Linked DNA regions of Homo sapiens: region 1 is linked to region 2. The links are contacts of gene promoters, found by promoter capture Hi-C in blood cells and fetal thymus (Javierre and others, 2016). All regions are on one chromosome and are shown on one strand. The core of a region is centred on a gene start or on the middle of the fragment in contact, and the rest is flanking DNA. Distances in the headings are between cores, read along the strand shown. Region 1 overlaps LINC02154 (long intergenic non-protein coding RNA 2154). Region 2 holds the start of FAM9C (family with sequence similarity 9 member C).

The links. The method cuts DNA at HindIII sites, captures the fragments that hold promoters and counts their contacts. A CHiCAGO score of 5 or more calls a contact.
Region 1: a contact is called between a fragment that was not itself captured here and the fragment with the promoter of FAM9C in region 2, in 1 of 17 cell types (naive B cells). The highest score is 5.0, in naive B cells.

What each region holds. Positions count from the first base shown.
Region 1 is chrX:13,282,417-13,287,223 of GRCh38, reverse strand. The region is part of intron 1 of LINC02154 (long intergenic non-protein coding RNA 2154); the gene reads left to right. Among named protein-coding and RNA genes, the nearest start is that of LINC02154, 19 kb to the left of the region's middle. The HindIII fragment of the contact is 4,687 bases long and covers 1-4,397 here.
Region 2 is chrX:13,043,182-13,047,849 of GRCh38, reverse strand. FAM9C (family with sequence similarity 9 member C) reads left to right here and starts at 3,230. Exons shown (of 8, transcript NM_174901.6): 1 at 3,230-3,310; 2 at 3,993-4,121; 3 at 4,602-4,668. The coding sequence starts at 4,061. LOC105373133 (a long non-coding RNA gene) reads right to left here and starts at 3,117. Exons shown (of 4, transcript NR_171577.1): 1 at 3,001-3,117. The HindIII fragment of the contact is 8,868 bases long and covers 1-4,492 here.

The sequences.
Region 1 (4,807 bases), core at 805-3,304, 240 kb before region 2:
CACCCGAGCCTTTGGAGCAGCTTTACTTAGGATTACATTGATTGAGTGCTTTAGGTGTAGAGAATGAAACTCTGAGGACATGATCTGAAAGGAGATAGTGAAACAAGGAAATAGTTCAAATTCTTTGTATGTAACATGAACTGGAATTGAAAGCTGAAATAGGAGAAGAGATGAAGGTCAGAGTCCTTTCTTTAATATATGAATACATAATAATCATATTTTAAATGATTGCTTTTTAGTATAGAGATTTATACTTCCTCTTCCCTTGTCATTCCAAATGTTCATTCACTAAATTGTACTCTCATGTGAAAATGCTTGGGATATTTGAGGAAATTGAGTTAATCAAGTTTCGGGAATTCAAGTCAGTTTCAGGTCAATTACAAAGAGGTGGGTGGGGGTGATCTTAGCTGATGTCTGATGAACACCAGCTAGTTAATTCTATATAATCATACATAAAACAAACAGACTTTTATTCATAGTAGTTTGTAATGTATTCATATCCAGATTGCCCTGATCACAAATAAATTGGTCAAAGTGCTAGAAATATTACATAAGAAATAATTTAAAATGTTCCGTATGTACTGAAATATGTTGAGAAAATTTCTACCAAAGCCCAAGTTGTGTCCTAGTAGTAAAGTAGAAATACTGTTGTTGAAACATTGAGTGTATCATGGCTTGGAGCCCTGAGAAAGTTGCAATTTCCAAAATTGCTTGATTCGCTGAGTTAATTTAGTTATTAGAATAACCTGAGTCATTGCTAGAACTTTAACTAGAATAATGCATCTCGATTGAGGTTTTTTCCTCCTCCTTTACCTTCCACTTTCAGGAAAAAGAAAGAAAGTTATGACTAGCAAAGTTATTTTCCAAAGAGTTATTCCTAAAAACATATTTCAGATGACATTAACACCTAGTATGGAGTATTTTCCAAATAGTAAACAATGAAAATATCCCTGTTATTAGGAGAAAAATAGTACTTTATTTTAAGACGTACAGCATTTATCTTTACCAGTTAAGGTAAAGTATGCGATAACACATAAACCCCAAATCTCAGTGGCTTAAGAAAATAGAAGTGTATTTCCTTTTCATGTAAGGTCCAAAAGAGGTATTCCTGATAGATGGGTAACATTCCTCCAAGCGATAATTTTGGTACCCAGGCTTCTTGCATCTTGTGGCTTTGCATTTTTTAACATAGGACTTACAAGGTCACGGTGACACAGGATTTTTCACAGCCCCTTTGCCAGACTTGCAGCAGGGGGCACACCCTCTACACGGCCCACCGGGCCACATCTGGCTTGCATTCCGGCCTGTAACTCCTGCAGCTGCACAACTGCATCCTCAGCCCCTAGGGGGAGGGAACACATGAGTGAGTGAGTGTGGGGTCCAGCTGGCCACTCCAAGTGCCGACACAGAAGCAAGTTCCATGCAGGGCCTGCCGCCAGACCAGGCATGTTGCCCCAAGGGGAATGTGGTGGTACCCAGGCAGGGGTGCCTGTGACCCCAAAGCCCCAGAGTGGCTGTTACAGTGTGCTAATTAGCTCTTTTTGTTCTGCTGTTCACAGCCAGATGGACTGCAGTATGTTAGCAGCTAGTCAGCCTATTGTCCCCCTCTGGCCCACAGCTCCAGGACCAGCATGGCTCTGGGACTGGTTTGGCCCTGCCACTGCTTCTGTTTTGTGCGGCGCTGCCCCCCCACTGGTGAGGGCAGAGGGCCAGTGCCACAGCCTTTCTGGGTACCCACATTCAGTGGGTCTAGAGCTCTTGTCCCGCATCCAAGAAGAATGAGGTCATGCTGACTGTTGAAGGGTGATGAGGGCAGAGAATTTTATTGAGTGACGAAACAGCTCTCAGTGGAGAGGGGATGGGAAGATTGAGTTGTCTCTTCCCTGAAGTCAGGTCGTCTCTCCCCCAAAATCAGGTCATCTCTCCCCTGAAGTCAGTTGGCCTCTACCCCAAAGTCAGGTCACCTTTCCCCCAAAGTGAGATCATCTCTTCCTCAAAGTCAGGTCATCTCTTACCCCAGTGTGGCTGAGTCTGGATTTTTTATAGGCACAGGATAGGGGAGGGGCAGGCCGTAGGTAGCATTGGAAAAGGCAACATTCAGTTGGTGTGTGAGTATGCAAAAACAGTTAAAACAAAGGCACCAATCAAAGGTGGGCACAGTGTAAAAACAATAAGGGAAGAGTAGGTATATGTAAAATCGGTGAAAGGTGGGGATAAATCAAAGGAAAGCACACCAAATGGGACGACAGGTTCTCAATCTGGTCTGTGGATTTGACTTGTAACTTGGCCTTCAGGCTTTAAACAAGCCAAAGACAGGCTTGAAGGTGGGGTTTCACTAGGGACCTGCCCCTGTCTGCCTAGGCATTTGTCTGCCTCCTGCTGCTATCAGCAGCCAATAAGAAAGAACATGGAGGATGGTGCCTGGAGGTTTTTAATGGGCTAGACCTGAAAGTCACTCATTTTACTTCTGTCGGCATTCCATTGACCAGGATGCAGTCACATGACCACACTTAACTGCAAGGACAGCTGGGAAATGTAGCCTGGCTGGGTGCCCAGGAGGCAGAGGAGAGGGGTTTTTTTCAACAACTAGCTAGTCTATGCCAAGAAGATCTGTTCTTCTGTGCCTCCTTTATCAATTTTTGAAGCCCTAGTCAGTGAAAAGTTATGGTCATAATTATGCATCCACTACTGAATTCATAACTATAAAACAAAAACCTCACTGAATTAATGCATGGTATTAACCAAAGTATGAAACCAAGGGTTGAAAACAATTTTTTAAGTTCATCTTGAGCTGGATAAAAATTAAATTGAAATATGCCTGTTTCTGGAGACTTGCAGCTAATTCAAATGTCACTGTCATTATCATGTGGAGAGCTGTCACTTTACTTCATCTGGAAGAGTCACTTGGTACCATGGATCCTTAGAAATGCTATGTGCATAAATAAATGTTGCCTCCAATTGCTTGACAAAGGCAAGCGGCCCAAAGAAAAAGCCACTCAGGTGGAGACAATTAAATGTGATTGCAATTGAATGACTCAGCTGGGGATGGGGAATCACAAGACCTAGGAGAGAAGGAATTGTGTAGGAGTGGAATTGTGTGATCAAACCTAGGAAACAGTTGGCTAATCTCAGAGCAATCAGTCTAAAGGCTTTTCATGTAAATGTAGAATCAGAGATTTGAGGAAAACACAAGGGTCTAGGAAAGCAGGCCCTATATAGCAGTAGCCAAATGGAGTAAGAAAAGACAAACAACTGAAACAGTTTCTTCTTTATGACATGGGTAGCATGTCCATTAAATTTCTAAAGCTGCACACACCTCTTTGTTTGTGATGAAAGAGGTCAGGAAATCTCATGGACTGTGCATAAATGAAAGAAAGTGCCTGGCAAGTCATCTTATTTCCTCTTTTAGTGTTATCTCCAGATGCCCTCCTGTGAGGTGACTTAAGAAGGCAGCCCTTCCTGAAAGAGGAAGCACACAATGATAACAGCTGCCATTACTGAGCATACAGCATTGTAAACCAAAAATCAAGCCATGCAACAGACTGATGGGCCCTCCCCTTGGCCAAGGGCATTCCAAAGTTAACCTAAAAAACCAGTTCAGGCCGTGATGGGAAGTAGGGGTCGGACATGCCTCATTACACCCTCCTCCCATTGGAATCTGGGCACAGCTGACCAGCATTAACATTAAAACAGAGCCCTTAAGACTGATAGAACAGTCAAAAAGAGTTTGAATCTTTTTGTTGACGGCATGGACCAGGTACACAACTAGGTACTTACCCATGTTATCCCCATTTCAGGCAATGATTACTTTTGAAAGCAGCTAACTTGCTAATTATATTTCTTATTTTTCCTGATAGTGCTAAATAAATAAGATATATCAAAACCATTTAAAAATAGCAATTCTGGAGAGATAGCTTCCCTTCCTCTCTAAGTGTGATAGAAGATGGTTCGTCAAAGATGGATATATTTAGAGATATAAACTAAACTTGCTGGTAGAAATATTAAAAATATTTAAATGGGTCAACTTGAATTAAGCAGTTTTTGCTACTCTCAGGAGTTATTTTCTAAAGAATTCATTAGTGACGAAAAAATATTGTGAGAGAAGTGCTGAAAACATATTGTGAGAGAAGTTATCACTCAAGCTCTATGTATTTATTCCTATATAGGGCTAGGCACTAGGCTTATATGAGATTAAAAGCATGGTCATAGCTTGTCTGGAGTCTTCAATTTGGGGAAGAAAAAAAGGTAGTATTCAAATATTAAAATCACTTGGGGAGTTTTAAAAGATACTGTGAGACACTAGTGAGACCCCAGCCCCAACCAGTTTTTTGGATTCTTGACACTGTCACAAGAAAGAATTTGGGGATAAGTTGGAATGATGTGAAAGACAGGAAGCTTTATTGCAAAGCAAAGGTACACACTTAAGAGAGAAGTGTGGGCGTGCTCATAAGAATGAGTTGCCCACAGTGGAGTATGGGTTTCTAATTTTGGGGGTTTTTTTAAATTAAGGGGTAAAATAATCATTAGATTTTCTGGAAAAGAAGGGGATTTCAGCCCTGCCCCAACTCCCCATTACTGCCCCCTTTCTCCCTTATGTTGGTTTGCCCAGAAGAGTCATGGACACGTCACCCTGACCAAGATTTTTGTCATTTTCTCTCCCCTATTTGGGGTTTTCTGTTATCCTGTGATTTCTTTGCCTAGTTCTTGATTTAGCTGTTGTCTGGGTTTTTCCATCCTCCTGCAACTGCCCAGTGCTATTCCTATCTCACAAGGTAGGTAGCCAAGGTTGAGACCCTCTGCTGATGGA
Region 2 (4,668 bases), core at 1,981-4,480:
ATGTAATTCTCAGGACTGGGTGGTAGACTTTGCCATTTGATGAGAGGGTCTGAGCCTATGTCTCTACATGTATGCACAGCATTAATTCACGTATAGCAAACACAGCATTTGCTGACGGCCCACCATGTGCCAGCCATGGCGCTGAGTGCTGGAGAAGCAAAGTTGACAAAGACCTGCCCTTGAAGGAATTATAATCTAATTGGAGAGAGTCTTGAAAAGCCCACTGAGAAGGGCCCTGATAGAGTTTGCACAGAGAAGATCATAGGTGAGGGTATTTGTGCAGAGTACATCAGATAAGCCTTTCTGAAAGACATGAATGTTTTCATTCATTCTTAAACAGCTGGAGCCTAGAATTTGCTGCTTCATTCGAGTATAAACTTTTGCTAAGAGTCTAAGAATTGGAGAAAAGGCTGAAATGTGAATGAACATGAAGCCCTCAAACGTCTGGAGGATTATCAGCAGAGAAACTTCCATCTCCTGTGCTACCAGCCCTGTCTGATAAATGAGCAATTTGATTGGCTATTAGAGCGTAAATCACTAATTCAGGCTACAGAGTATGGATGTATACAGTCTTTAACCCAGTGATCACATCTTAGATTTCTAGATGTTTTCAAAATGAACAATTGTTGTTGCCATTTGATGAGAGGGTCTGAGCCTATGTCTCTACATGTATGCACAGCATACATGTTGTTTTCCAACATTTTATTATTAGAAATTTCAAATACACAGAAAAGTTGAAAGAATTTCATGGAAAACATTCATGTTCCCATCACCTAGATTCTATCATTGACATCTGGCCATACTGTTGTTGCTTATCACATATCTAGCCATCTGTTTGTCCCTCTGTCTGTCTATGAATCCAAGCAGTGCATTTCTTTCAGTTAGTTCTTAATGACAGCAATAGAAGAGTGAGGGCTGCTTTGAAAATTGGTGTTATTTCTACATTTGTTATGAAGCATTATCCTTACTTGTCAGTCAATTCACATAGGGTGGAGTAGGGTGTTGGGGGTAGGAGGGGGTTACACCTCCAGTTATTAGAAACCAATTCTCTAAATTAAAGTACTTATTCTAATAACTCTTGAGAAATCTCCTTTAAATTTGCTTAAACATTTCCTGTGGTCTTTGTAGATAACCTCTAGTGGGAAAAAAAAAAAATTGAAGTGACCATGTTTGCCCTAAAGGCTTTGGTTAGTTCACAAAACCTGTTTCCGCAACCCAGAGTTGCTTCAAATAGACTTCCTCCCTTTACAAAGGCTTAATGATTTGTGTATTGAGTTGTTTCTTTCTGGGAGACATCTCACAAATACTCCAGTTGGGAAAAAGAGATAAATTGCTCCATCCAAAGTTTAAAAGAATTTCTTCAGGGTTTTGTAACTTGGACACTTGGTGTTCTGAAAAGAATGTCTTTGTGCCTATTTAAAATTGCAGAATCCTTTTCAGTTTGTTTCTAGGCTGTTATGCCAAAGAAGTAGCTCTGTAATCCCCATTTGTCTTCACCTGACATCAAATTCCACTTTGTGATGGAGAATTGTTCCTTGATTTGACATTCTTTTAAAGAAAAATGAGCCAGCATTGAATTCTTAGCTGAATACCAGTAGTTGGTGTATGTGTGTATGTGTTTCCAATTATAGACAGAACCTGGTATAGTACTTTCAGCTGAAATCTTTGATGAAGCATATGAAAATTACATTGATCCAGATGGGATAGAAAGCTGTAAGACTGGTTGCACAAAGCCCTCTGCAAGATTTGTCTTCTTTCTTAATGTTACACATCTTAAGCTCGAAAGAGAGAGAAACCTGAAGCAATCATGGCTTAAAATTCCCCAAGATGTCTCATTGGCTAATTTGGGTACCAAGTAGATTGTGGGGAAATGGGGACAGCTGGTGGTATTTAGTGTCAGTAATTAGGGATTCTCTTTAGGTTATAGAGAACTCTTAGATATAAAGGTGAGCTGCCTTGTCAGGGAAAGATGGCTTCCAACCCAGCTGTGGAAATAATCGGGCTGGGCACGATGGCTCAAGCCTGTAACCCCAGCACTTTAGGAGGCTGAGGCGGGCGGATCGCTTGAGCCCAGGAGTTGCAGACCAGCCTGGGCAACATAGTGAGACCTCATCTCTGCAAAAAATAAACAAAATTGGCCAGGAGCGGTGGTTCATGCCTGTAATCCTAGCACTTTGGGAGGCTGAGGCGGGCAGACTGACTGAGCTCAGGAGTTCGAGACCAGCCTGGGCAACACGGTGAAACCCTGTCTCTACTAAAATACAAAAAAAAAAAAAAAAAAATCAGCCAGGCGTGGCGGCGTGCGCCTATAGTCCCAGCTACTTGGGAGGCTGAGGCAGGAGAATTGCTTGAACCAGGGAGGCAGAGGTTGCAGGAAGCCGAGATCGTGCCACTGCACTCCAGCCTGGGGACAGAGTAAGACTCTGTCTCTAAAAATAAATAAATAAATAAAATAAAATTAGCTGGGCATGGTGGGACATGCCTGTAGTCCCAGCTACTTGGGAGGCTGTGGTGGGAGGATCCCTTGAGCGCGGGCAGTTGAGGCTACAGTGAGTAGTGATTACACCATTGCAGCCCAGCCTGGGTGACAGAGCAAGACCCTGTCAAAAAAAAAAAAAAAAAGAAAAAAGAAAAATGAAAGAAAAGAAATGACCACATCATGAGAAATCTAGACATAAAGTCTTTAACTTTGTATATCCACTGCAGAATCATGCAATGCCCAGTGTGAGGGAATGGAGTAGGATAGGAGAAAACTACCTGCCCCTGCTGGGAGTCAACAATTTTCTTAGATAAAACATAAAAGCACAATCCATTGATAAAAAGGATGCAGCTGGGCGTGTTGGAAGCACACAGGACATGGGAGGGAGCCTGGGCTCCACCCGCAGGGTGATGGCCATTCCACCCAAAGGGGCAGGAGTGGCTGGAACGAGCCTGGGGGCAAGGTCCTAGGCCCCGTTCACTTGGCCTCCATTCCTTAGGGCAGGGTCCCCTGGCACTCACCACTCCCGAGTCCTTGCTTCCTTCACCAGGATGAGGAGCTGGAATATCGTGGGGACAGAGGCCTCAGAGAGCCACCCAATGAGTCCACAGCAGCCATGGACAGTCCGTGAGGGGGAGGGTGTGCCTGCAGGGGGCGTGGCCCCATGCCGCCCGCCACCTGCATGCGCACTGGGCCGACCAATCAGCGAGGAGCGCGGGCAGCCGGGGCGGCTGCTGCTCTCGTGAGAACAGAGGACCCAGGCCCTCGGAGGAGCTTCGCGGTGCCAGCCTCTGCAGGTCCTCTGAGGGAGCAACATCAGGGCTCCCTCAGGTGAGACGCCCTCGGTGGGGATGCGGGGAAGGCGGGCCAGAGGCCCTTTGGGGAAGAGGGTGTGAAGGGCGGGGCAGCCAGGCTGATCTGTGAGGAAATGGCCCAGGCATTGTCGCCTGGGGCCTGGGTCAGGGCAGGGAGTTGGAGCTGCCTGAGTGGTCCCCAGGACCCAGGAGGGTCCCGGAGGCCTGTGCATGTGTGCAGCGTTTGGGGGGGGGTCGGGGGGTCAACGTGGGTCCGTCTTGTCTGGCTGCCCATCAGGACGGGATACTTGGGGTCACCAGGGGTCCCCTGGGCGTCCAGGCTGGCGAATGGGCAGTCCCTGCCCCTGTCAGAAACAGGTGCGTACCGGCTCATTCCCATGGAGATGGCTGGGGAGATCCTGTGTCACCCCGCGGCCCTCCCGACTCCACTGGGTCGCTGGGGAACCCAGGGGCAGGGCCAGGCTCTGTCCCAAGGGCACTGCAAGAATCCCGCAGAGGCCGCGGAATTCTGCGAGCTCTGCAGCCAGCCCCGGGGAAGCGCTGGACGGGCCAGGACAGGAGGGGATGATGGCATCTTCTCCGCGTCCCCTCCTGCTCCCACGGGAGACCCGGGGCGCCCTTGAACCTGCGATCCTGATGATTTTCATTTAACACGCCTCGTTTCCTTAGTGTCCTTAGTGTGTCTTTGCACTCACCAGGTTCAGAGGTCGCCTCTAGCTTCCCAGGCCAGTCAGCCACGGAGCCCGTGGGCAGGAAGGGCAGCAGGATGGCTGCCAAGGACCAGTTGGAGGTTCAAGTTATGGCCGCCCAGGAAATGGAGCTTGCAGGTAAACACAGCCCAAGGGGACCTAGAAGAAGGTGCACGCCCAACAGTCTGTCTGCTTTCTGGGCGGGGCGCACATGGGCAGCCCGAGGCCCCCGGCCCCTTCGTGGCTTTGGAGCTCACCGTGCATGTGCTGAGATGCCCCAGGTTTTCAAAGCAGGCTCAAGGGCCTTAGGCTTCCCGTGGGAGGCTCCCCCTCATAGCAGGGTTACAGATGCTCTCAGAGCAGCTCTTCTCCATGGATGCGGTCCTGACATCCAAGGGATCTGACCTGTGAACGTTGTTTACTGGGACTTGAACCCGAAGGGCTTCCAAAAATGCCTCCGTAAAATGGTTAGGAGCCGGCGATTCCATGTATAGCTCTGCGGTAAAGCTTTAATTGGCGGAGAGCCAAAAAAGTCTACAAATAGTACGTTTCTCTATGAAAAATGTCCACAACAGCGTCTTCCTCTAAAAAAGGTTTGTCTTTTTTATTTTAATGCAGGAAAGGATCCAGTAAGTCATGAGCATGAGGAAAGAAAACCTGTTACAGAGACAAAGGAGGGAGATGT